6 separate regions of the Homo sapiens genome follow, and all the other regions are linked to region 6. Evidence: promoter capture Hi-C in human tissues and cell types (Jung and others, 2019). All regions are on one chromosome and are shown on one strand. Each heading gives the region's core, a stretch centred on a gene start or on the middle of the fragment in contact. The rest is flanking DNA. Distances are from core to core; before and after follow the strand shown.

Region 1 (4,038 bases), core at 538-3,037, 430 kb before region 6:
GCGTTTAGCTGAGGATATAACATCATCATCAAATCATAGTTTCTCACCAAGAGCTGGTTCCAGCAGATTCAATTTCCCTTTGTCTACAATATGCCATGTCTTCTACACATTATAATAAAAAAGCGATCTTGGATTTCATCAGAAAATGAAAAACTATTAGGGATAGAAAATTGACTACAGGCTACCAGTTCTTTTATTGAATAAATAGAACACACACACAAACACACAAGAATTATAGGAAAGCAAGATAACCTACAACAGCATAGTATAGTCATCTAGCATCCACAAACACAGACATTTAATAAAATAGAAAGCAACAATTTCAAAATGAGCTATCAGGTATGCAGAAAAGAAAATGGGCTGGGGGCAGTGGCTCACGAATGTAATTCCAGCACTTTGGGAGGCCAAGGCGGGTGGATCACGAGGTCAGGAGTTCCAGAGCTCCTGGCCAAGATGGTGAAACCCCGTCTCTACTAAAAATACAAAAATTAGCCAGGTGTGGTGGCGGGGGCCTGTAATCCCAGCTACTAGAGAGGCTGAGGCAGGAGAATCCCTTGAATCCAGGAGGCGGACGTTGCAGTGAGCCGTGATCCCGCCACTGCACTCCAGCCTGGGCTGGACAGAGCAAGACTCCGTTTCAAAAAAAAAAAACAAAAAAAAAAAAACAGAGAGAAAAGAAAATGAACAAAAACTGGAGAAATCAAAGTTTAGAATGACACACATATATTAAGTGGCTCTAGGTACAGAATACTTTTTCCCTAAAAGTGAAAGGTTATTTTTGACCTTCCAAATGTAGTAGACTTAACTTTTTCTTTCAACAGAGAAAAAAAGTTTCTTTACTGGTGATGTTTGGAAATGCCAAGATGTGGAGCTGGCAAATACTGCTTTTATAAGTGGGAAAATCATTCATGCTACAAGAGTACCAGAACTTTGTCTATTTACCATTCTTCTCTCTCATCCCTAGAACAGTGCATAGCACAACAGTAGGTGCACAATATAAAGTTGCTGAATAAATAAATGATCTTTTTTTTCAGAAAGAATTGAGAAAAATGACTGGCAGATGGTAAATAATTTGTTTAAAGTCAAGGAATAGATAACAAGTCATTATTAAAGGGATCTGTTTGTTTGGTTGTTTAGCATCCCTTTTCTTCATCTCCCAGTGACAGAACCCTGCTCTTCCTTTGGGGAAAGGTTCCTTAACTATTCATTTTATGTGATTTTTATGGGGTGGTTCAACATATTACCCTCCTGGCATGGCCTTAGGGGTAGTGGGCTCATAACCCGATCTGGGCCAATTATTCCTTGAAATTTATATCTACTGAAGCAGCGAGATAAATCTTGTCTTTCTTTTTGGGGTTGCTAGCTGGGGTGATGTTTGCCTAGAGCTCTATGTAGTCACAACTGTCTTATTTTGAAAAATAAGTAAGGGAGGTTGGGAGGAAACAGAAGTGGAGCTGAAAGGTGAAGACAGAGTCCTTATGTCAGGATCCAGGGGTCCCTGAAGCTGGCTCCACTCCTGACTTTCTCAGTACATATGCCAAGACATTTAATTTTTTAAATTTTGAATTATATATAAAAATAGATATTTGAAAATAAGTGTATAGTTCAGTGGCATTAAGTACATTCACATTGTTGTACCAAAACTCAATTTTCTACTTAAGCTAGATTAAGTTTGTGTTGTCATTTGCAGTTTAAAAAACGGTAGATTTTTTGGGTTCGTTTTTGTCTTTTTATTATTGTGTTATAGGAATTCTATATATATTCTGGATACTACTTCTTTATCAGATATATATTTTGAAAACAATTTCTCCTAACCTATAGCTTACCAAATTAGATTCTTAAGACTGTCTTTTGATAAGCAGAAGTTGTTAATTTTGATGACAACTAATTTATCAATTTTATATTTTTGTGATTAATGCTTTCTCTATCCTAAGAAATCTTTACCTATTCCCAAGTTGCAAATATATTCTACTTGGTTTTCTTCTAGAAGCTGTATAGCTTTATTTTTTTATTTTATTTTATTTATTTTTTTTAGAAATGAGATCTTACTCTGTCACCCAGGCTGGAGTACAGTGGCACAATCAATCATAGCTCACTGCAGCCTGAAACTCCTGGGCTCAAGCAATCCTCCTGCCTCAGCCTCCTGAGTAGCTAGGACTACAGGTGCACCACCAGGCCCAGCTAATATATATATATATTTTTAGATTTTTTTGTAGAGAGTGTCTTGCTATGTTGCCCAGGATGGTCTTGAACTCCTGGTCTCAAGTGATCCTCCTGCCTTGGCCTCCCAAAGTTCTGGGATTACCTGAGCCACTCAGCCCAGGCTAAAATTAATTTTTATATTTGGTGTGAGATACAGGTTGAGGTTGATATTTTTCCAGATGTATATTCTGTTTTTTCAATATCACCTGTTGAAGGAATTTTCCATTTCTCATTGGCTTGCTTTGATGCTTTTGTTGAAAATCAAATGAATGTGGGTCTACTTCTGGGCCCGCAGAAATAGTCCGTTCCATTGATCTATTTGTCTATCCTAATACTAATACTGCACACTGAATTGCTGCATATTTATAAGTCTTGAAGTCAGATGGTGTAAATTCTCCAACTTTATTCTGCCCTGAAAGGGCTTAAACTAACTTAGCAACTTATTAGTTATTATTGCTCTATTATTAGATAATCATATCAATCTAATAGATACTACTAGATAGTATTATTAGGTGTATAGTTGTAGACCCTGGAATTCAAAAAGAAGAATATGCCTTCTTTGTTGTTTTTGTTACTCACCTCAGCAATATTTCTTCCATGTCAGCATGATAAAAGAGGTTTGTAGCAGACATTTGTAATATTGAGCTCTCAGCACACAAATATCCTTCTTGTTTTGTTTCCTTTGCCTAGCATGCCATATTCCTTTTTCCTAACTCCTATTTGTTCTTCAGTTCCAAGTTAAACTATAAAAATAAAACTATTTACATGTGCATAAAAAAACAAAATGTTTAGGAATACGTCAAAGACTTATAAGACCTCTGCACTGAAACCTACATTAACATTGCTGAGAGAAATTAAAAGTCTTCTTAAATTAGAGACATAGATCATTTTCATGGATTGGAAAACTCAGTATTCTAAAGATGTCAATTAATTCTAAATTGATCTAGGGAGTTAACATAATCTCAATCATAATCCTAGCAGGCTTTTTTTTGGTAGAAATTAACAAGTTTATTCTAAAATTTATATGGAAACGCAAAGGACCTAGAAAACCCAAAGAATCTTGAAAAATAAGGACAAAGTTGGAGAACGCAGGCCACCCAAGTTCAAGACTTACCAAGTTTAGCTATGATTTCTTCAAGGATACCTTTTATGCCCCTCCCAGTCTGGATTAAGTGCCCCTCCTCTGTAATTCCATAGTATTATCTATGAAAAGCACTTATCAGGGCATTTCAATAATGTGTTATTTGTCTGTATTCCTCGTCCTGGGCTTCTTAAGGGCAGGAACAAGGCTTGTCTATCTTGTTTATCCTGAATCTGAAACACCTAGAAAGATGTAACATGACAGACATACAAGTATTTGCCACATTAAATTGAACTTAAATACTTTACATAAAAGAGTTAATATTTTAAAAGAAAACTCATAAAGGTTCATTTTCTGCTTGAGAACTGCTTAATCAGGTGACCAAGACTGGTTTATTGGACTTGGTCTTTAAAAATATTAATATTACTATGACGGAACTAAAAAGATGAAGATCACACAATTTGATTCATAAGACATTAGTTCAACCCTTAGGAATCAAACCCTCTAAACATTTATAGTACATTGCTCAGCAATTGTACTCTAAAGGATTTAGGTATGGAATACTGCAGAAGGCAAAAATGGCTTTATTCACAAAGGCGTTCAATGTTATTGCTATTTACATAGGAAAAATGGAGGCAAGCTAAGAAACCTATACATGAGAATAATTTTTTAAAAAACACCATGGTAGATCAACTTGACATAATATTTTACAGCCATAAGATGATTATCAAAATAGTATAGTGTTCCCAAAATGG
Region 2 (4,643 bases), core at 1,192-3,691, 410 kb before region 6:
GGCGACAGAGCCAGACTCCGTCTCAAAAAAAAAAAAACTATTTTATTGGCTTTTATAAAGCTGGAGTAGGATGTAATATTATGCAGAATAAATTGCCATGGATTTTTTTTTTTTAAGAGCTGAACAGTTGCTTTGGTCTCCTTGGCAACACAGTATTCTCCTTCTGTCCAAGAAATTTAGTACATATAAATGAATATTTGAATTTTTCTTTTTAGAATTCAAATTCATTTTTTTCTTTATACTTCCAAATTTCCTACATTTTCTCCTGTTTTCATCATTTTATTTGCAATTTATTTTTTTTGAAGAAATACATGCTTATGATTTTAAAAAATAGTACAGAAGGGATTATAATGGAAAACAATGATCCTAACTGCCTCTTCTTTTCCTCAGTTTGCTCCTTATAAGTCATTTTAAGTTTCTTTTTAGTTATTTTTGTGGTTACCATGAAAAGACTAAGTAATATACTAGAAGCACTATTTCTTGATGTATTTTAAAGCTTTAGATATTATCTGTCAAATATATCCCTGTGCTATAAAAAATGGGAATTCACTCACTATTCTCTATGTCTCCTAAATTTTGATAGTTATGCTATTAGCATTAGTTATTTCAAAAGTTTAAACAATATAATTAATGCTAGCAAAGTTTGCAGGACAATAAGTGCAACTAACAAACAGGGCTTCCAACTGGCCATTCTATTTAAGAGGAGACTGGCAGAAAACATATTGTATACATGAAAACAGAGAAAACCCATACCAGCTTATATAAGGTACCTAGCGTAGTCAAATACACAGAAACAGAAAACAGAATGTTGGGTACCAGCGGCTAAAAATCTATTGATGTTAATAACTAACTAACGATCAAACTATAAAAAGGAAATAAGCTGCATGAAAAATAAGTAAAGCAATGGATACAGGAAAAAAACTGAGTTAAGTCAGGGAACACAAGAACTTAATGTTTTTTGATTAAATAAGACAATTATTCCATCAAATAAGGAAATATGCTATGAAAAAGGAACAGGAAACAATAATGAGCTCTTGGAAATTAAGAAAAAAACGTTACACCCCACCCCTGCCAAATGCAATAGAAAATATAGACGTTAAAGTTGAGGAAACATAGCAAAAGGAAATAGGAAATATGAGGAAGTTGATGTGGAGTAACTTCCCCAGAAATCCAATGTAAAGAAATCCTAGATGAAAATAGTGTACTGATCCACACTGGGGTTCCAGAAATATATCTTGAAAAAGAATTCAGCATCTATGCCATAAATAGTAAAAAGCTGGAAGATGTTAGTAATATGGTGAAGATGGCGTGTTGTTTCTGGTCAACAACATTAAAAAAAAAAAGAACAGAAAAGAAAAAGCAGTTACCCAAGGAAGGGAGGGAGGGAGGAGGAAAACAGGAAGAAAGTAGGAAGGGAGGGAGGGAAGGAAAGAATGAAGGACCCAAATAAGCAAGGAAAGACAAAGCTGAGTAAGTTAAGTTATGGTCTAAAAATGAAGCCAACTAAAATGGGGCATCATTTTGAACAATTAATTGATGGATCTTAAGGAAAGAAAAACAGATCTCCAGAACTTTTTCATCTTGCTAAACTGAATTTCTGTACCCATTAAATAACTCCCCATTTCTTCGTCCCCTAAGCCTCTAGCACCCACCATTCTGCTTTCTGTTTCTATGAATTTGACTAATCTAGGTACCTCATATAAGTGGCATCATACAATATTTGTCTTTCTATGACTAGCTTATTTCACTTAGCATAATGTCTTCATAGTTCATCCATGTTGAAGACAAGATTTCATTTTGATTATAGAACAAAATGTACATGTTATCAAGTTATTTTGGGTTTGGGCTTATTGCACTTTGTTTCATGCTACTTTTTGTACGTGGAAATTGCATCTACTCTTCAGTACCCACTGATCCCTTCCTCCAGTTCTTTTTACATTGTAGGTTTAGTCCTTTCGTTCCTTTACTATCACTGTAATAAGTTCTCAGGGAGGGGAGACAAGTGTTTAAGTCTTTCATCTTGACCCAAAAATCTTTATACTTTTATTTCTTCAAATTAAAAATGTACTTGAAACTGAAAACAGCTAAGATGTCCTTCAATAGGTGAATGAATAAGCAAACTGTTGCATATCAAATATTATTCAGTGATTAAAACAAATTAGCTGTCAAGCCACAAAAAGAGATGAGCTATCAAGCTGTGAAAAGATGAAGAAACCTTAAATGTAGATTGCTTACTGAAAGAAGATGGTGTGGAAAAACTACACAGTGTAGTAATTTTTCCATAGATATATTTGAAAAGGAGTGATTCATATTTGAAAGCTCTTCCTGTCTCACCTGACAGTTTTCAAAATAGGTAGACTAGCACTTCTGTTTGTTATTTGGGGGACTTCTTTGCCCTGTTTTTTTTTTTTTCTTTCATAAAAGCTGTTTGTTTACTTCCTTCAAGTTTTCTTTTTTTTTTTTTGAGACGGAGTCTCGCTCTGTCGCCCAGGCTGGAGTGCAGTGGCGCAATCTCGGCTCACTGCAAGCTCTGCCTCCCGGGTTCACGCCATTCTCCTGCCTCAGCCTCCCGAGTAGCTGGGACTACAGGCGCCCGTCACCACGCCTGGCTAATTTTTTTTTTTTTTTTTTTTTTGTATTTTTAGTAGGGACGGGGTTTCACCATGTTAGCCAGGATGGTCTCGATATCCTGACCTCGTGATCCGCCCGCCTCGGCCTCACAAAGTGCTGGGATTACAGGCGTGAGCCACCGCACCCGGCCAGTTCCTTCAAGTTTTCTACAAGGCCGTTAGAAACCTATTCGGATATGTCTTTGATCTAAAATTATTTTCCCGGTCGGGCGCAGTGGCTCACGTCTGTAATCCTAGCACTTTGGGAGGCCAAGGCAGGCGGATCACCTGAGGTCAGGAGTTCGAGACCAGCCTGGCCAACATGGTGAAACCCCCATCTCTGTTAAAAATACAAAAAATTAGCTGGGCGTGATGGCACTTGCCTGTAATCCCAGCTACCCAGGAGACAGGCAGGAGAATCACTGGAACCCGGGAGGCGGAGGCTGCAGTGAGCCAAGATCGCGCCACTGCACTCCAGCCTGGGTGACAGAGCGAGACTCCATCTCAAAAAAAATAAATTTTTAAAAAAGTATTTTTCCTGTCTCTTCCTCTCCTCTTATTTAAAAAAATCAAAGAATATGGATAATCTAATAAAAAGGAATTTATCATCATTTGATTCTTCCAGGTTTTACTTGTGAGATACATTGAATTAACAAAAGAATATACATCTTATTATATTTCATTAGCTCAGGGTTTTTGTTTTGTTTTGTTTTGTAGAGAAACAGGGTCTCACCCTGTCACCTAGGCTAGAGTGCAGTGTGATCATAGCTCACTGCAGCCTCCTGGGCTCAAGTGATCCTCCCACCTCAGTTTCCGGAGTGGCTGGGACTACAGGCACAAGCCATCACACCTGGTTACATTAGCTTAGATTTCAATGATAATCCCTGGATAATCTAAATCAGAATTCTTTCATCCTTCCTTTTGGAGAGACAGCACAATTGGCTTGTCTCATGGAGAAACCTGTTTTTACCTAATTTATGTCTGTTTGGCTTTTTAGAAATATTTTCCCTCAAAATAAAAGGTTGATTAGTAATTTAGTGCAGATTTTACTGAAGGAGTATTGTTTTCATTAGTCAACTGTGGTCTGCATTACTACTAATTAGTACTGAGGCTGCTGCCCTCTAGTATCGGGAGTTAATGGAGAAAATGTTCTATGCTGGTGAAGAATAGACAGGAAGGCAGTGAGATAGTGTCACCAATCCTCATGAGATCTTTTACACCAAGTCATTTAATGAGGAGTGTATCTTACCAAACAAAACAATGGAAATGGTCATATTTAATGCCTTAAAGAGTATGAAGACTATAATATGGTAAATGAAAAATACCATATCTCTCTGATTCAAAGACATTTTAATGTCTACCTTGTTAGAAAACCTCTTTAACGTAAGTAATGGTTTTATGTTGTGTTTCTGCTTCAGAATTTTTTCACGTCATTTTCTCTCTGAAATATTTCATTATTTATATAGGTAAAAATGAGGGAAAAGCCTAAGTGTCCATGAATAAATAAATGGTGACATAAACTGGAACACTCTGGAGTGAAAAGAATAGCATGGCTCTATATGTATTAAAAGGACCTCCAAGATATATAGATATAAAGAGAGATATAGATACATAGGTGTATAGGTTTATATTTTTTTTAATTTTATTTTATCATATTAAGAACACTTAGCATGAGATTTACCCTCTTAACAGATTTTCCAGTATTCAATATAGTATGGTTAACTGTAGGTACAGTGCTGCACAGCATATCTCTATAATGAATTCATCTGGCTTAACTGCAACTTTATGCCTCTTGCTTAGCAACTCTCCATTCCTCCTTCCCTTCCAGCATCTGGCAACCATCATTCCACTCTTTAATTCTATGAATTTGACTATTTTAGATACCTCATATAAGTGAAATCATGCAGTATTTGGCCCTCTGTGCAAGATATACATGAAATAAGCAAGTTATAGAACAACATGTACAATTTGATGCCATATATGTAAAAAAAGAGTTAAAGCAAAACTGCATTTTACAAGTATGTAGATGTGTAG
Region 3 (4,394 bases), core at 1,584-4,083, 260 kb after region 6:
ACATTGGCTCATGCCTATAATCCTGGCACTTTGGGAGGCCGAGGTCGGGGGGAATCACTTGAGGCCAGGAGTTCGAGACCAGCCTGTCCAACATGACAAAACCCCATCTCTACTAAAAATACAAAAAGTAGCTGGGCTTGGTGGTGAATGCCTGTAATCCCAGCTACTTGAGAGGCTGAGGCACTAAAATTGCTTGAACCCAGGAGGCAGAAATTGCGGTGAGCCGAGATCACGCCACTGCACTCCAGCCTGGGCGACTGAGCGAGACTCTGTCTCTAAATAAATAAATAAATAAATAATCGATGAACGAATAAATGAGAACTAAATGGGGCAATGTGTATAAATCGGCACTTAGTAGATAATCAATTTATGTAATTTACTGTAGCTTTCATTCTTGAATATATGTAAAAACATGTAAAGACTTATCAACATTGCATTGATTTTTCATATAAAGATATTATCTTTAGGCAGGGTGTAGTGGCTCATGCCTATAGTCCCAGCGTGTTGGAAGGCCAAGTGGGGAAGATCTCTTGAACCTAGGGGTTCCAGACTAGCCTGGACAACATGGCAAAACCCTGTCTCTATAAAAAAATACAGAAATTAGTGGGGCATGGTGGCATGCACCTGTAGTCCCAGCTACTCGAGAGGATTGCTTGAGCCAGGAGGTTGAGGCTGCACTGAGACAAAATCACACCCCTATATACCAGCTTGGGCAAGAGTGTGAGACTGTCTCAAAAAAAAAAAAAAAAAAAAAAAATATATATATATATATATATATATATATATATATATATACACACACACATATATATTTGAATTTTATTTACGGAAGCATCAGAAAAGAATAAAATACTTAGGAACAAATTTAACAAACAGCATAAGACTATACAAAACACTGCTGGGAGAAATTAAAGGAGACACATGTATTAGTTTGTTCTCATGCTGCTAATAAAGAGATAACCCAAGACTGGGTAATTTATAAAGGAAAGAGGTTTAATAGACTCAAGTTCCACATGGCTGGGGAGGCCTCAGGAAACTTACAATCATGGCAGAAGGGGAAGCAAACATGTCCTTCTTCACATGGCAGCAACAAGGAGAAGCACAGAGCAAAGAGAGGGGAAATCCTTTTATAAAACCATCAGATCTCGTGAGAACTCAACTATGACACACACAAAATTCTATTTTTCTGCTAACAGAAATAAAATCCCCAACTGATGGACCACTTTTCTGATCTAGTTTTTGATTGTTTTTTAGGAACTTAAAATTCTTAGTGACTCATATTTTAAAATGCACAGACTCAGTTTCTGTTTTAAGGAATATGGCACAAAGATATTTAGGGAAAAAGTATGTATGTACACGCACATATATACATAGTATATGTGCACACAAACATTAATGAGGTGGTAAAACTTCTAAAATAGAGTCCATATCAACATCCTCTTTCTGGAGTCTGTCTTTCTTCCATTCTTTTTATTTATCTCCCCTAATTAATACTGGACTGTTTTTTAACTTGTATACTTTTTTTCCTTTCTTTTTTGTAGTCTGCCTTCTTTCTATTCTCTTATTATTTCACCATTTTCTCTTGATAGGGAAAACAGCAGCCAGGCAATAGAACTTTACATTTGTTTTCACCACAGAAGGAAGCTATCATTGTGTGGTACAGAGGAAAACTTGTTTTCCTTACCTAATGACTTTTATTTTATATTGGAAAAATCATGTCTCTTATGGAAAGTTATGATGTTTGTGAGTCTCTGGCTGTCTATGGCATTAGGACAGTTGACAATATATCAACAGTATTTTATAAAACTGCTCTTGGGGCAGATACTTACCATTCTGAGTGGAGAACAATCAGATACTCAAACTAAAGTTCAAATACAAATATTTAAACCAAAGTTGCCATTGTCTTGTTATTTGTAAAATGAGAAAAGTAGGGATGAGAATAAGCTACCTGGCAGGAATGTATAAAGATTAGAGATGATCATGTAAAAGGCTTAAAACAATCTCTGATATGAAGCAAGTGCTGAATACATGAAAATCATTATCACTGGAAATTTTGTTTGTCCTTAATTGTCCTTAATTGACTATGTTGTATTGATTTGTTTATTCATTATTTCTTCCACAATCATGAATCCCATTTGAATCCTAAACTGCTGGCCACCATTAAACTTATTATTTGTTAACTTCTTTGTTTTGTTTTACAGGCAACAATTGGCATTGACTTTTTATCAAAAACTATGTACTTGGAGGATCGAACAGTGAGTAATATTTTCAGTGTGCAATTTTCTGCAACATTCCAGGTTAGAAAACTGCAATCAAAGTTATCAATGATTGTCACCATAAGAAGTACTTAGCAAAGTTACCAAAGATAGTTTACAGTTGTTGAGAAAAACTCTTATTACCGAGTGAGTAGTACTTGGCAGTCATCTTGATTTGGAAAAATGAAAACAAAGAGCTTTACAGAGAATTAAAGGAGAATTTTTATGAAGAAATTAAACCTGCTAAAGACCTTCTAAATGCCACCCTTGAGGCATTCAAAAAGATTTCAATTTGTGAACTTCAAGATTTTTTTTGTCAGGATAGGATGCGTATCAAAGTGACTGACAAAAAAGAAGTTATGTGGGCAGGGTGCGGTGGCTCACACCTGTAATCCCAGCACTTTGGGAGGCTGAGGCAGGTGGATCATCTGAGGTCAGGAGTTTGAGACCAGCTTGGCCAACATGATGAAACCCCATCTCTATTAAAAATACAAAAAATTAGCCAGGCGTGGTGGCGGGCGCCTATAATCCCAGCTACTTGGGAGGCTGAGGCAGGAGAATCGCTTGAATCCAGGATGCAGAGGTTGCAGTGAGCTGAGATTGCGCCATTGCACTCTAGCCTGGGCAACAAGAGCGAAACTCCGTTGCAAAAAAAAAAAAAAAAAGTAATGTGTATTTATTTGTTGGATTTTTGTCTTTCATCCTTTGGAATGTTTTCTTTAAATACAGTGTAAAATCTGTATTCTAGCCCACTACCCCTTGAAGAGATACTTGTCACCTAAACAGTGAATATCTTAAATGCAGTACTTTGAGACCTGCACCCAAAAACATTATTTAATTTCCAGTGTTATTTCTTAGGTGTTTTTTTTTTCCTGAATATTCTCTTTTATGTTTTGATATATAGCATGTCATTTCTTAAAATTTGAAAGCGGCCAGGTGTGGTGGCTCACGCCTGTAATCCCAGCACTTTGGGAGGCCAGGATGGACAGATCACCTGAGGTCAGGAGTTGAAGACCAGCCTGGCCAACATGGCGAAACCCCATCTTTTCTAAAAATACAAAAATTAGCTGGGCGTGGTGGCGGGCGCCTGTAATCCCAGCTACTCGGGAGGCTGAGGCAGGAGAATCGTTTGAACCCGGGAGGCAGAGGTTGCAGTGAGCCGAGATCACACCACTGCACTTCAGCCTGAGCGACAAGAATGAGAGTCTGTCTAAAAAAAAAAAAAAAAATTTGAAAGCTTGGAAACGACTTTATCATGATGCAAGAACTTGATACTTGTTTTCAGGCTTTTCTTCCTGTAATATAGATATGGATAGTACGTAAAGACATTTTTATGTAGGGCTGCAAAAAGATCTTCCTCCTTTTTGTTACATTATACACACACACGCGTGCATGCGTGCGCGCACACACTCGCATGTTCTGGGGAAAATGTATGGGAGAAATACAAGCACGGTAGTTAAAAAACAGGTTTGAAAGTATTCTAGACCCAATAGGAAAGAGACACATTTTAGCTTGAGAGAAGCTTTCAAAGAAGCATTAATTCCTTTACTCTGATAGCTTAGGCTGCTCATTGACATTTACCTTAGGTTTTTTTGTTTTGTTTTGTTTTTTTCTCTATTTAACCATCAACAGTCTACTTTTTGCCACTTGAAAGGCATAGGGATTCAAACAGGTTTTAGGTAGGGAAAAAGGGAAGCCATATTTCTGATTCTGTGAAATTTTTCCCAGTGGCATTTTCCAGTCATTTATGTTTGGAGTATGCAAATTTTTAATATTTCTCCCTTTTGAAAAAGGAGTTTTGTGTTATTTTCATTCCTCACTCCCTGCAACCTCTTGCATGAGTCTTCTTTCTACTTCCTTCCCACCCTCTCCCTTTTACAAAAAACATTGTTTCTTTTTTCTTTTTAGTATTAGTTTGGTTTTTTTTTTTTTATTTATTTTTTCCCATCTCACAGATCAGGCTTCAGCTGTGGGATACTGCGGGTCAGGAACGTTTCCGTAGCCTCATTCCCAGTTACATCCGTGATTCTGCTGCAGCTGTAGTAGTTTACGATATCACAAGTAGGTATATTGCAACGGGTTGACCTTTCTTATTTTTCTTGCTTGTTTGACTGATTTTGTTGTTAGGTACGATTGCAA
Region 4 (4,362 bases), core at 508-3,007, 370 kb before region 6:
TACTTAAATATATGTATTTCCTCTATGTTAGATCAGTACATTTCTCTTAAGAGTTTATTTTTCCTTAACCATTTCCATATTTCCATAATTATCTCTGTAACTCTTCTGTAAATAGCTAACACTATTGCTAGGAAGAATCCTGGCTAGCTGAGTGTATTTTTCCTATCCTACAAAATAATTTTAGCTTTTTCTCAACTTTATTTTAATTTCAAAAGTATACCCATCAAGCTGTCAACTGTTTGCTTCTCCGTCTAAAATAAGTGACAGTAATACTAGCTAAATGCTACCAGCTCTAATCAATCTAAAAAGAATTTGATTCCTTTTTTATCCTTTCTGTCTTTTCTTATTTACATTTTTGTTTTTTAAAGAGTATATGGGCAAAAGCAAATTAACAAGTGAACCTAACTATTTATCAAGCTGAAGGCATAATTACACAGAGAAGAATTATTTCAAGTGACTTTACAGTTATTGACTATGTATTTCTAGTGGGATATGTCCTAAGGATAAAGAACTACAAAGAAACCTCAAATTTTATTTGATAGCTGTACTGTTAGTGGTAATATTGATGATTTTACAGATGTAGATATAAATAAATATATAGACATACACATATATATGATAAAACAAATGGGTAATTATGTTAATGTCACTAGGATCTAAGATTTTAGTTTAAGAGAAGTGAATGTAAAATCAAATAAAATAATTTTAAAATTATAATTTTAAATTTGAATTTGAAATATGTTTTATTTACCTAAAATACCAAAATACTAGTTCTGTTACTAAAAAGGCCAATGCCTACCCCTAAAGCCCAGACTGTGGTTTCTAAATACCATTTCCTAGTAAAAGGAACCAGGGCTCATTGGAGAAATTGATTCTTATCAAGGAGTGGGGCAGAAAATGTACTAAATGAGGCTGAGATAACTTTGTTTTCCTTGCCATGAAGCAGGCTAGCTTTCAAAGATACTGGGGTCATATCAAAAAGATCTGGGAGCCAACTTGAAGGGACTCCCACTGACCAAATATTGGATAGTTGGGCATCAAAAAGAATAATCACCTCAATGAATTAAAACATTAAACCTAAAAAGCCCATGACTGTTAGTAATACTAAAAAAGCAGTTTATTGGTCACCTTTGGGAGTTGCTGGACTGAAAATCACACAGGCTGAAATTTGATAAATTCTAAATTTTCCTTCTGAAAATCAATAAATGTTTGAAACTTTCTCTTAATTTGTTCTGCCTTTTCTATATGAACTGAATTTTAGGGCTAATCAAATGGTTGATGAAGGATCATTATTTTTAAAAGAAAAATACAATAAATGCAGAAGAAATAACAGAATTTTCAAAATCACTATGTTGTGACCTCTAATAAATAATATATCTAAGTAATTCTTATCAAGGGCTGCTAAGACCCATAGGTGAAATGTTGATGGGAAATATTTTGATGGAAGGATTAGGCTGACACTGGTGAATCTTAGTTTGACAGCATTAAAAGTAGAGTAGAAATTGTGTGCTTCCACCTGTGAGTCAATAGAAAATACACAGCACCTATTCTTGCCCAAAGAATTGAAACTGAATCTAATGTTACCTCTAAATGCAGTTGCCTATTTACAGAAAAAATAGGATAGAAGAGCATGTTAATACCAAAAGGATGCAGTCTACATACTGGAGATACAGGAAATTCTACAGGACAAATGGGCCAGTTTCTTCAATAAATGACATTTGGGTTGGGGAAGGAAGGGAGGAACATTTACAGATTAAAAGAGACTTGAGAGGCATAGCAGTCAAATTATATGGAACCTCGTTCAGGTCCTGCTTCAAGTAAAACAACTGTTAAAAGTATTTTTGAGACACTTGGGGAAAATTTGAACACAGATACGGTATTAGAGGAAAGAAATTATTGTTGATTTTGTTAGATGTAATGATGGTAATATGGTTATGTTTCTAAATACTAAAGCATTTTCATGTAAAGTAATATATCTTGAATAAATGAGACTAGATTGACAGACAATGGAAACATATTGAAGTGAGGTAATGGGTATATGGTGTTAGATATTCTGTCTTCCTATGCATATGTTTGAAAATTGTCATAACTTTATTTTTATTATTTATCTTATAATAAATTGTATTTTTTATGGGGAATAGTTAGTAAATGGTAGGTTAGGATGTACAAAGTTTTGCTGTGGAAAAGACCAAAGAAACAGAGACTAGATGCTAATGGAAATGATGCCGGCGAGAGAGAATTATCCATGTACTAAAGTTCTCAAGTGAGAATTGATGGGGACCAGAGCAGAAGTAGAGGGGTTGACCTTTGATACAAAGAACACCTCCTCGTTATTATCAGATGGAAGAAGGAAAAAATATGGGTTGTCGGTTTGGTGTGGGACGATTAGGAAGTTCCCATCAAATGGCTCTGTGTCTGAGTGATGTATGAGATGAAGGGGGAGGAAAGGAATAAGGAGAGAAGAGAAGGTACTAATTAAGTCACCATCTTGGAGAGTAAAAAAGTAAGCTTTTTGGGTAACAAAGTAGGATTGCCTGGCAGCATTGGGTGTCCATTCAGAGTGAAGCTGTTCAATCCTTTTGTGAGATTTATTCTAGCAATATTCAACTATTTTGGTGCAAGCCTGGAAAAGGAACACATTTGGGTTCAACAAGATTTGGGGTATTGGAGGGTCAAAGTAGCCAGACTGACATATAAGAAGGTGAGTGTAATTAGGTACTTTGCAATCTAAACTGGAAGTGAAGAAACGAGGGGTCTACTGGCAAGCGAGAAAGACCAGTTAGGAAGTGTTTGTGATGGTCTAGTGAGAGATAATATTTACTTAGATGATACAAGCTTAGCTTGTTCAGGGTATTGGCACAGCATATGGAAGGCAGCTGTCCAGGTCAGGAAGTTGAGCCACAAAGGGAGAATGCTGTTGAATTAAAACTCTTGATCTTTAAGTTAGTACTCTTGATTTGTTTGTTTGAATATCTTAGACCTCTGCTGAAGGCTTAAATCACATTTAATCACATTTTCAAATCAGAATTTGATTGTTTTTAATTATATCAAAGGTAAGAGGTTTTGTAATCATGATCTTATGTTGATTTTCCTTTACAGGGAGTTAAACTCGAAGACCACCTTGAAATTTGTGCACACATCTTTTCATGGGGTCGGACATGACTATGTGCAGTTGGCTTTTAAAGTGTTTGGTTTTAAGCCTCCAATTCCAGTACCAGAACAAAAAGATCCTGATCCAGACTTTTCTACCGTTAAATGTCCAAATCCTGAAGAAGGAGAATCTGTGCTGGTATTTTTTTAAATATTTAAATTATTATTAGTTTATTAAACCATCAGAATAGATAGAACTCATTGACAATTCAAAGATTACTTACAAAAGCAGAAAGGACTGTAGTTTACATCTTTTAATTGTATTGGAGTAATAATAGGCTGTGTTTTGTTTGAAATGTCTATGGTGGGTGTCCCTACTTTTGGCTTCTTGTTTTAAACGTAGCTGAATTCTATGCCTTCTAAAATTCCTATCACTAACATTGTGCCTACATACAGGAACGTTAACATTGAACTTAGGTTCTTCAGTACAATCCAGCTTTTTGGGTCACTGTTTCAGGAACTTTCCTTGAGACTGGCAGAGAAAGAAAATGCCCGGGTAGTGCTAGCCACAGATCCTGATGCAGACAGACTGGCAGCAGCAGAACTTCAGGAGAAGTATGTAGAATCTGTTATTTGATTAAAAGCTTGAACTTTGAAAAGCAATGTATTTTAAGTCTTACAGGCTCATTGAAAATAATGAAAAGATAAGAAAAGAACATAAATTTCCTGTAAATCCATTATCCCAAAATAACCACCTAAGTTGATACTTTGATAATTCTTTCCTGTCTTTTAAATTGAAATATTTAAAGATGTATTTGTTTTTATTAAATTATGATCATAGTTTTATATCTTGATTATTTTCCACATTAATTGTACAAAATGCTTCAAAAACTGCTTACAGTGTAATGGTTAAGTATAATGCTTACAGTGTAAGCATTTTCCCCTGACTTTATACATTTTTTGAAAATATTAATTTTTACAAAGACATAATATCCCAACAGATCGCTTTATGATGTAGTTATTTCCTAACCTTTTTTTTTGTTTGTTTGCTTTTTTTTTTTTTTTTTTTTTTTTTTGGAGACATAGTTTCGCTCTTGTTGCTTAGGCTGGAGTGGAGTGCAATGGTGCTATCTTGGCTCACTGCAGCCTCTGCCTCCCAGGTTCAAGCTATTCTCCTGCCTCAGCCTCCTAAGTAGCTGGGACTACAGGCATGTGCCACCATGCCTGGCTAATTTTGTATTTTTAGTAGAGACAGGGTTTTGCCATGTTGGT
Region 5 (4,174 bases), core at 1,334-3,833, 320 kb before region 6:
GGACCGGTACCAGTCCATGGCCTGTTAGGAGGCGGGCCCCCCAGCAGGAGGTGAGTGGTGGGCAAGGGAGCATTACTCTTTGAGCTCCACCTCCTGTCAGATCAGCCACGGCATTAGATTCTCATAGGAGCGTGAACCTTATTGTGAACTGCACATGTGAGGGATCTAGGTTGTGTGCTCCTTATAGGAATCTAACTGGTACCTGATGATCTGAGGTGGAACAGTTTCATCCCGAAACCATCCCCCAACCCCCCGGTCCGTGGAAAAAATTGTTTTCCATGAAACTAGTCCCTGGTGCCAAAAAGGTTGGGGACCACTATATAGCACATATCACAGTGGTTATAATTAATTCAATAGTGTTTTTGAGTTTCTACCAGATACTAAGTATTGCATATACAGTGATGACAGGAGAAAAAGACTTTGTGATCCCTTTGAGAGCTGGACCCTGTCTTGCCTTTATATCTCTAGCATGGTGCCTGAAATACAGTAATTGATTAATATAGACTGACTCATTCAGTGAACAAAAGAGTGGACCTACTTTTGTTGTATCTATAGTTTTCATATTCTTTGGGCTTGCATGGCTTTTTGGTTGGACTATTATGTGAATCTCAAGAGGTTCAGCATGTCAGTGTTAGCTACTCTTAATGTACACACACCATGCCAGCCTTCCCTAGGTGTAGTGGTTGTATCAGGAGGTGAGATCATTCTACTCCTTTCTTTCAGATTCTACGACAAGGTACTTTCTTTGCATGAGGATTCAACAACCCCTGTGGCTAACCCTCTGCTTGCATTTACTCTCATCAAACGCCTGCAGTCTGACTGGAGGAATGTGGTACATAGTCTGGAGGCCAGTGAGAACATCCGAGGTAATGAGGAGGAGGGCTGGAGGGTAAGAGAGAAGATTCTATCTCCTGACTCGGTGGTAAGGAGAGAGATTCTGTTGGGATGTGATTTCAAAGGGTAATGGAGTAGGTGGGTATTACTTAATATCCTTAGCTCTAGCTAGCACAAAGAATTAGGCCCGCTTGCTAATCAGTTTATATGATTATACCTTAGAAAGCACTTTCATATCAATTGTCTCATTTGATGTTCACTACAATCCTGTGACAAAGTACAAGCCTTCCATTTATATATGTATAGAAAATAACGGTCTTCTAGTAGTTTCTGTTTCATTAAATTGTCACTACAGTGTCATCTATAGCAAGATCACTTTCCTAATTTATTCTACTTTGTGCTGTAAGAAGTTTGTTGACGGCCAGGCGCGGTGGCTCACACCTGTATTGCAGCACTTTGGGAGGCTGAGGTGGGCTGATCACTTGAGGTCAGGAGTTCCAGACCAGCCTAACCAACATAGTGAAACCCTGTCGCTATCAAAAATACAAAAATTACCGGGGAGTCGTGGGATTACATGCCTGTAATCCCAGCTACTCGGGAGCTGAGGCAGGAGAATTGCTTGAATCCGGGAGGCAGAGGTTGCAGTGAGCCAAGATCGCACCACTGCACTCCAGCCTGGGGTGACAGAGCGAGACTTTGTCTCAAAAAAAAAAAAAGTGTTGACTTTTGGGCTGGGCACAGTGGTTCATGCCTGTAATCCCAGCACTTTGGGAGGCTAAGATTGCTTGAGCTCAGGAGTTCGAGACTAGCCTGGGCAATATAGCGAAACCTATTAAAAATAACAAAAATTAGCCAGGCATGGTGGCGCATGCCTGTAGACTTGGGAAGCTGAGGCACAAGAATTGCTTGAACCCAGAAGGTGGAGGTTGCAGTGAGCTGAGATTGCGCCACTGCTCTCTAGCCTGGGCGACTGAGCAAGACCCTGTCTCAAAAAAAAAAAAAAAAAAAAGAAGTTTGTTGATTTTTGGAAAGCTAACAGTGAGAAGAGTCTGGGTGTGGTTGCTCATGCCAATAATCTCAACACTTTGGGAGCTTGAGTTGGAAGGATCACTTGAGGCCAGAAGTTTGAGACCAGCCTGGGCAACATAGCAAGACCCTGTCTCTACAAAAAAATTTATTTAAATTAGATGGATGTGATGGCGTGTGCCTGAAGTCCTGCCTACTCAGAAGGCTGAGGTGAGAGGCTCACTTGAGCCCAGGAATTCAAGATTATAGTGAGCTATGATCATGCCAGTGTGCTCCAGCCTAGGCAACAGAACAAGATCCTATCTCTATTAAAAGAAAGAAAGAAAAGAAAGAAAAGAGGAGAGAAGAGAAAAAAAGAAAAGAAAAGAAAAAGAAAAAAAGAAAAAGAAAAAGAAGAGTTGTCTCCCTAAAGAGTGAGACTCCTGTAAACATACAGGATAGGACAATATAATGAAGCTGTATGCCTTAATTTTTATTCCTCATTCACTCATTCTGAATGTTCCTCATTCAGAATTGCATTAAGCATCCACCCTGTGCCAGGAACTGTGCTTGCCTCTGGGAACACAAAGACAAATCCAACTTGATGTCATTAAATATTTGAACAGGTGGTCATGCCTTACATGTATTAAATGCCCAACTCCTGTTTCTTGAATGCTGGGTTGATGTTTTTACTACTTTTACAGCTCTGAAGGATGGCTATGAGAAGGTGGAGCAAGACCTTCCAGCCTTTGAGGACCTTGAGGGAGCAGCAAGGGCCCTGATGCGGCTGCAGGACGTGTACATGCTCAATGTGAAAGGCCTGGCCCGAGGTGTCTTTCAGAGAGTCACTGGCTCTGCCATCACTGACCTGTACAGCCCCAAACGGCTCTTTTCTCTCACAGGGGATGACTGCTTCCAAGTTGGCAAGGTAACAATATTCAAGAGAGGGCCAATTGCTTGGCTCTGGTTTCTTATGGATAAAATAACTATGTACCGATTGATTTTACTTCTTTTTAATACTTACAGTAAACTTGGAAATTTGATATCATTTCCATTTTCAGAGAAAGAAAACAAGATTCAGAGAGGGTAAATAACTTGCCCTAAGATTATGCAATTTTAAGGGCAGAACTAAAGCTTGAACCCAGTCTTTTGACTCCAAATCTCAGGCCCTTTCCATAGTAGTTAAGGTGTTTATATACTTAGAACACTCTTGAGATTGAAAGGGGTGTTATTAATTATGCTAGAACAACAGACATGAACTAGGAAAAATGGTCCTTTGTTCACCCTAACTATAGCACCCTGCCAGTGCATGAACTCCTGGGTAGAAAGGGAAAGCAGGGGGTCAGGGACGCAAGGTTGGGGAAAAGGATAAGAGATGGTGATGGAAAGGTAAGATCACGGAAACAGCCTCCTGAGACTTTCTGGAATCCAATGCAACATTTCCTAAGCATTTGGAAGTACAAAATTAAAGTAGTGTCCAAAATCTAAGGCCATTCACTTTAACATTACTTGAGGAAATAGACTTCAGGAACACCCCCGCCCCCCATCTGAGGTATTTAACTGATCTTTGATTATAAGTTGTAATCACACGTGAGATCATTTTGTAATATACTCTTTGCCAGCCTTTGCTATAAAAAGCAATGGAGCAAATCCATTTTAACTTTGAAGATGTTTATTGCAGTAAGGTGTATTTTTCCTGACTCCTACAGTATTCATCAACAGATCTGGGAGTGGGTCTCATGTGTCCTGATTCCAAGTTTTGGGAGTCAGTCTTCCAAATTAAGGCAGAGTAGGCTGCTTGAGTCTCTCTACATACTGTTTTCTCTTTTCTGGGATCCTGAGTGGAATCAGAGCTCAATCATCATGTTCATGGCTGATTTAAATTTAAGCCAGGTAAAGTAGTTTAATGTATGGTACTAACATATTAGTGAGGCCTTTCTGAAAGTAAAACCGTATGTTGAAAATTTAGTAAGTCACTTCCTGGAAGTCTTACTGGCAATCTTTCTTTCTATATTTATTCACTTATTTTGAGAGAGAAAACTTTTCAAATATAAGAAAAGAACATAAAATAATATAACAAGCAATTATATCTATTATTGTAATGAATATATGTTCAAATTTTGCTATGTTTGTTTCATTTTTAAAAATATATATTAGAAAAAAAAACATGTTACATACAGCTAAAACCCCACTCATCCTCCTCGCCACCCCCCATCCCTTCTGCTCCACCCTTGCCCAGGTAGCAGCGATCCTGAACCATATAGTATGTGCCCTTTTAAGTCCAGCTTCTTTCATTCAGCACATTGTATCTGTGGAATTCATCCATATTGTATCA
Region 6 (4,652 bases), core at 135-2,634:
CAGAGCTCAGCGCAAAAGCTAGAGAACCTGGCGGAGGGAGACTCACAGTGCCACAAAAAAACTTTATCTTTTCTTTTTTTTTTTCTTTTCTTTCTTTCTCTTTCTTTCTTGTCTTTCTGTCTTTCCTCTCTCTCTCTCTGTCTTTCTTTCCTCTCTTTCTTTCTTTTTTCCTACATGGCAAGATCTCCTCATGGCAGAAATAATCTGCCTTGACTTCTGTTTCCACGCTGCTTCTGCCAGGACCATGCGCTCGGCGTGTTTTTCTTTCCGCTATAATTATCCAGGCCCATCCCAGCTCTGGTCCCCTCAGCTGTTCCCTGGCAGTCCCTTCTGCTGGTGAAAACACATATGGCGCCGGCCTGACCAGGGTGTAAGTGTGTGAATATCAGGAAGATGACTGAACGTCTTTGGGACTCCGTTTCCTCATTGTAAAATGGAGGTTAATACCAGCCTTCTTCTACTCCCCAAACGCACGTGTTTGTCCCGGCCAGAGGGCCCAATTGTTGGCTGTTCACGCGTCAGTTACCCCCACAGGACGGGTCAGCCAATTAAAGGCGAACCAGGCCCGGTCCATCTCCTGACGCCTTTTCTCATCCCAGGGCTGGACAGGCAGCTGGCCTGGGCCCGGCTCTGCCTTGTCACGTGCGGGGGCCGGCCCGTTTGCTTGTCTGTGTGTAGGAGCGTGAGGTCACGCTGGGTGCTCCCGCCCCGCCGGGGCCTTTAGTGTCCTGGTCCCTAAACGCCAGGCCGCTCCACCGGGGGAGAAGGCGCGAACCCCAGCCGAGCCCAACGGCTGTTGTCGGTTGCCGGGCCACCTGTTGCTGCAGTTCTGATTGGTTCCTTCCCCCGACAACGCGGCGGCTGTAACCAATCGACAGCGAGGCCGGTCGCGAGGCCCCAGTCCCGCCCTGCAGGAGCCAGCCGCGCGCTCGCTCGCAGGAGGGTGGGTAGTTTGCCCAGCGTAGGGGGGCTGGGCCCATAAAAGAGGAAGTGCACTTAAGACACGGCCCCGCTGGACGCTGTTAGAAACCGTCCTGGCTGGGAAGGCAAGAGGTGTGTGACTGGACAAGACTTGTTTCTGGCGGTCAGTCTTGCCATCCTCACAGAGGTTGGCGGCCCGAGAGAGTGTGAGGCAGAGGCGGGGAGTGGCAAGGGAGTGACCATCTCGGGGAACGAAGGAGTAAACGCGGTGATGGGACGCACGGAAACGGGAGTGGAGAAAGTCATGGAGAGAACCCTAGGCGGGGCGGTCCCCGCGGAAAGGCGGCTGCTCCAGGGTCTCCGCACCCAAGTAGGAGCTGGCAGGCCCGGCCCCGCCCCGCAGGCCCCACCCCGGGCCCCGCCCCCGAGGCTTAAGCCGCGCCGCCGCCTGCGCGGAGCCCCACTGCGAAGCCCAGCTGCGCGCGCCTTGGGATTGACTGTCCACGCTCGCCCGGCTCGTCCGACGCGCCCTCCGCCAGCCGACAGACACAGCCGCACGCACTGCCGTGTTCTCCCTGCGGCTCGGTGAGCCTGGCCCCAGCCCTGCGCCCTTTGCGCCCCCCACGCTTGTTCTGCGTGCGCTGCCCGCTCTTCCATTTACCTTCTCTCCCACCCAAGTTTGTACTCTTTTCTTTCTCTCGGTTTTATTTTTTGTTTTTGTTTGTTTGTTTGAGACAGGCTTTCGCTCTGTCTCCCAGGCTGGAGTGCAGTGGCGCGATCTCGGCTCACTGCAGCCTCCACCTCCCAGGTTCAAGCGATCCGCCTGCCGAGTAGCTGGGATTACAGGCGCCCGCCACCACGCCTGGCTAATTTTTGTGTTTTGTAGAGATGGGGTTTCGCCATGTTGGCCAGGCTGGCCTCGAACTGCTGAGCTCAAGCAATCCGCCCGCCTCGGCCTCACAAAGTCCTAGAATTTTAGGCATGAGCCTCCGGGTCCGGCCTGTGCTAATCCTTTCTGTCCTTGGTTCTTTATTTCTCTTCTCTCTTTTTCTTAGTCCCTTTTGTTCTTTCCCTCTCCCGTTCAGTTGGCTGTCGTTTGAGCCTCCACCTTTTCACTCCCTCCTTTCCACCACGATGCCGAGCCCTGCCTTGGATGGGGACCATCAGCGATGACCACAATGACCTCTCCCTTACCAGGCAGCTCCAGGCAGTGTTCCTGCACCGCCTTTCCCAGGGCTTGGGGGCTTTTTCTAGTGGGCTTTGAGCTGCTCAATCTGGCCTCTGCAGGGCCGGCTCCCAGCCCTTCCAACCTCCTCACAGCCCGACCTGGGACCTAGCCAATTCCCGGAGAGTCTCTGTCCCATCGTGACCCCCTCACAACTCTCCCACTCACCAAAGTCTGATGACTGTGCTAGGGGGTGCTTATATAGAGTACTGAGTGTTACAAAAGCAGAAGTCTGGATGAGAACCAATTTGTGATATTAAGCAGGTGGGGTGGGGGTGGGGAGTGTACCTAGGTTCATTTTCCGCCCTGCTTTTCCCCTTTCCAGTGTGTGCACTTAACCAGTCCCTGGGCCCTGTTCCCCATCCCCCTCCAAGGCATGGATTGGGTGGGCTTGTGTGTCTTGGGGCAGGTGGCCCTTTCTAAACTCTCTGCCTTTGCTCACCCACAGGACACATAGTATGACCATTAGGTGTTTCGTCTCCCACCCATTTTCTATGGAAAACCAAGGGGATCGGGCCATGATAGCCACTGGCAGCTTTGAAGAACGGGACACCTTTAGAGAAGCTTGATCTTGGAGGCCTCACCGTGAGACCTTACAAAGCCGGGTAAGAGTCCAGTCCAAGGAAGAGGTCTCTTGCTGCCTCCTAACCCTGTGGTCTAGGGGCAGGAGTCAGCAGGGCATTAACAAAAATAATTACCATCCCCACCCCCGACAGTGAAGTGGCTCTTTCCAGTTCACAGAGCACTCTCACACCTCCCCGCTCTCATTCTGGCCCTTCAGCTGACTCGGACAAGCCAAGGATCTTGGTCCCCATTTTATAAAGGAGAAAACTGAGGCCCACGTGTAACAGTGATTGGCCCCAAGTCATCCCGGGAGCCAGCAGAAGAGCTAGGACAGGAACCTATTGTTCTAACTTCATATTGATGCTAGCTTTTGACTATCCCTGAAACCGAGATTGGTAATCAGCCCGGCTCTGAAACTGGTTATTTGCTGGGGACTGTAAAATAGGATTAACTATTTCTAGTCCTGCATTTTAATTGCTGTTAGTAGGGCCATCTTACCCACCCTCTGAAGGACCTGACTTGGCAAGCCCAAGGCAACATTCAGAATATGGCAGCTGAACCTCTGTGCACTTGTCTTTGGGCAGCAGCTGGGTCTTATTCTTCTCTGGCCTTCACAACATCCTGCAACCCAGCTCAAGGTCAGGAATGTGACAGACTCATGTCATCATATCTCTGATGCCCAGAGAAGGGATACCATTTGCCTGAGCCTTCTCAGTACTGTTTAATCAGCCTGTGAGAACTTTCCTTGTGAAAGGCCCTGTCTGTGCCTGGGGCTGATAAAACAGCAAGAACGAACTGAGGAGCTGGGCAGCAGTGCAAAGCAAATACTACCAGCTTTGGTGCCTGTAAGTGTGGCTCTTACTCATCTCACATGGAAATAAGGGCAGCCACCTTGCAGGGCTGCTCTGAGGATTGAGCTAATACAGTGCCCTGGGCGTTGGGGTGGGGAAAGTTGTGGAGCACCTCCTGGGGGAAGGGGGTGTCAGAGCAGGGAATCTGGGGAGTCCGAGGGCACCTTCATCAACCCAATCTGTCATTTGAGCACCAGTCTTCACTGAGCCTCGTGGGCAAGCTGGAGGGAAACAGGAATAAGGTCAGGCCCTGTTCTATAGGTCCCAGTGTAGTTGCTATGGTGAGTATCTTCATTTCCCTGCTTGCCCCAGCCACCTGGAGTGAGAAGCCCAAGAGGAAGCTGGGTGAGCTGTTTGTTTCCATGGGTCTCTGTGTTCACAGCTGACTCCCTTCACCAGCCAGCCCTTTCACCTGAGCCCCAGCAACAAAGGCAGTCAGGCGGGGCTCAAAGCAGCTGCTCCAATGAAGTCAAAGAAATAAGCTCAGGGGAAGAAGCAGGTCACCCTCCCCCACTAGGGTGCTGGGCTCACTTCCTCCTGGGGCAGTGGAGGAGGGTGTGGTTCCAACTCAGAACAAAATGGGGCTTTTGGTTTACTTTATCACTCTTCACAGCTCTGACCTGGACCCCTCATCCCTGCCTGTCTTGTGGTGTAAGTGCGGATCCCCCTAAGTTGGAGGAAAGGAAACTGGCCCAAACAAAAAGGAGAGCAGTTTTCTCTGCATCACATGGTAGGCCAGGAGGAGTCTAATGCCCCAGAGTTTACTCTCAGCCCCCAAAATCACCTAGCTAAATGTTACCTTATCTAAGAAGTCCTTAGGTTTTTTGGGGTTTGTTTTTTTTTTTTTTGAGACAAGGTCTCACTCTCTCACCCAGACTGGAGCACAGTGGCACAATCACAGCTCACTGCAGCCTCAACCTCCTGGGCTCAAGCAATCGTCCCAAGTAGCTGGGACTATAGGCCTGCACCACCATGTCCAGCTAATTTATTTTTATTTATATTTTTTAGACAGGGTCTCATTATGTTGCCCTGGCTGGTCTTGAACTCCTGGGTTCAAGCAGTCCTCCCACCTCTGCCTCCCAAAGTGCTAG

What was found. Contacts are between HindIII fragments. The study calls those that stand out against the background at their distance.
Region 1: a fragment that was not itself captured here is called in contact with the fragment with the promoter of UCP2 in region 6 in 1 of the 25 tissues and cell types used here (lymphoblastoid cells).
Region 2: a contact is called between a fragment that was not itself captured here and the fragment with the promoter of UCP2 in region 6, in 1 of the 25 tissues and cell types used here (adrenal gland).
Region 3: a contact is called between a fragment that was not itself captured here and the fragment with the promoter of UCP2 in region 6, in 1 of the 25 tissues and cell types used here (dorsolateral prefrontal cortex).
Region 4: a fragment that was not itself captured here is called in contact with the fragment with the promoter of UCP2 in region 6 in 2 of the 25 tissues and cell types used here (IMR-90 fibroblasts and aorta).
Region 5: a fragment that was not itself captured here is called in contact with the fragment with the promoter of UCP2 in region 6 in 2 of the 25 tissues and cell types used here (dorsolateral prefrontal cortex and heart left ventricle).

Annotation. Positions count from the first base shown.
Region 1 is chr11:74,408,474-74,412,511 of GRCh38, reverse strand. No RefSeq gene overlaps it. Among named protein-coding and RNA genes, the nearest start is that of MIR548AL, 11 kb to the right of the region's middle. The HindIII fragment of the contact is 6,636 bases long and covers 1-4,038 here.
Region 2 is chr11:74,387,940-74,392,582 of GRCh38, reverse strand. The region is part of intron 1 of PGM2L1 (phosphoglucomutase 2 like 1); the gene reads left to right. Among named protein-coding and RNA genes, the nearest start is that of PGM2L1, 8.2 kb to the left of the region's middle. The HindIII fragment of the contact is 9,021 bases long and covers 1-4,643 here.
Region 3 is chr11:73,718,707-73,723,100 of GRCh38, reverse strand. RAB6A (RAB6A, member RAS oncogene family) reads left to right here. Exons shown (of 8, transcript NM_198896.2): 3 at 2,202-2,255; 4 at 4,383-4,394. Among named protein-coding and RNA genes, the nearest start is that of RAB6A, 40 kb to the left of the region's middle. The HindIII fragment of the contact is 4,090 bases long and covers 789-4,394 here.
Region 4 is chr11:74,346,075-74,350,436 of GRCh38, reverse strand. PGM2L1 (phosphoglucomutase 2 like 1) reads left to right here. Exons shown (of 14, transcript NM_173582.6): 7 at 3,100-3,289; 8 at 3,608-3,705. All of the region lies in intron 2 of LOC112268078 (a long non-coding RNA gene), which reads right to left. Among named protein-coding and RNA genes, the nearest start is that of P4HA3, 37 kb to the right of the region's middle. The HindIII fragment of the contact is 6,314 bases long and covers 1-4,362 here.
Region 5 is chr11:74,300,962-74,305,135 of GRCh38, reverse strand. It overlaps P4HA3 (prolyl 4-hydroxylase subunit alpha 3), which reads left to right. Exons shown (of 13, transcript NM_182904.5): 2 at 724-866; 3 at 2,544-2,767. Among named protein-coding and RNA genes, the nearest start is that of P4HA3-AS1, 8.3 kb to the left of the region's middle. The HindIII fragment of the contact is 6,663 bases long and covers 1-4,174 here.
Region 6 is chr11:73,979,575-73,984,226 of GRCh38, reverse strand. UCP2 (uncoupling protein 2) reads left to right here and starts at 1,384. Exons shown (of 8, transcript NM_003355.3): 1 at 1,384-1,506; 2 at 2,595-2,751. RefSeq lists enhancers at 47-547, 3,799-3,858 and silencers at 804-963, 1,264-1,473. The HindIII fragment of the contact is 13,644 bases long and covers 1-4,652 here.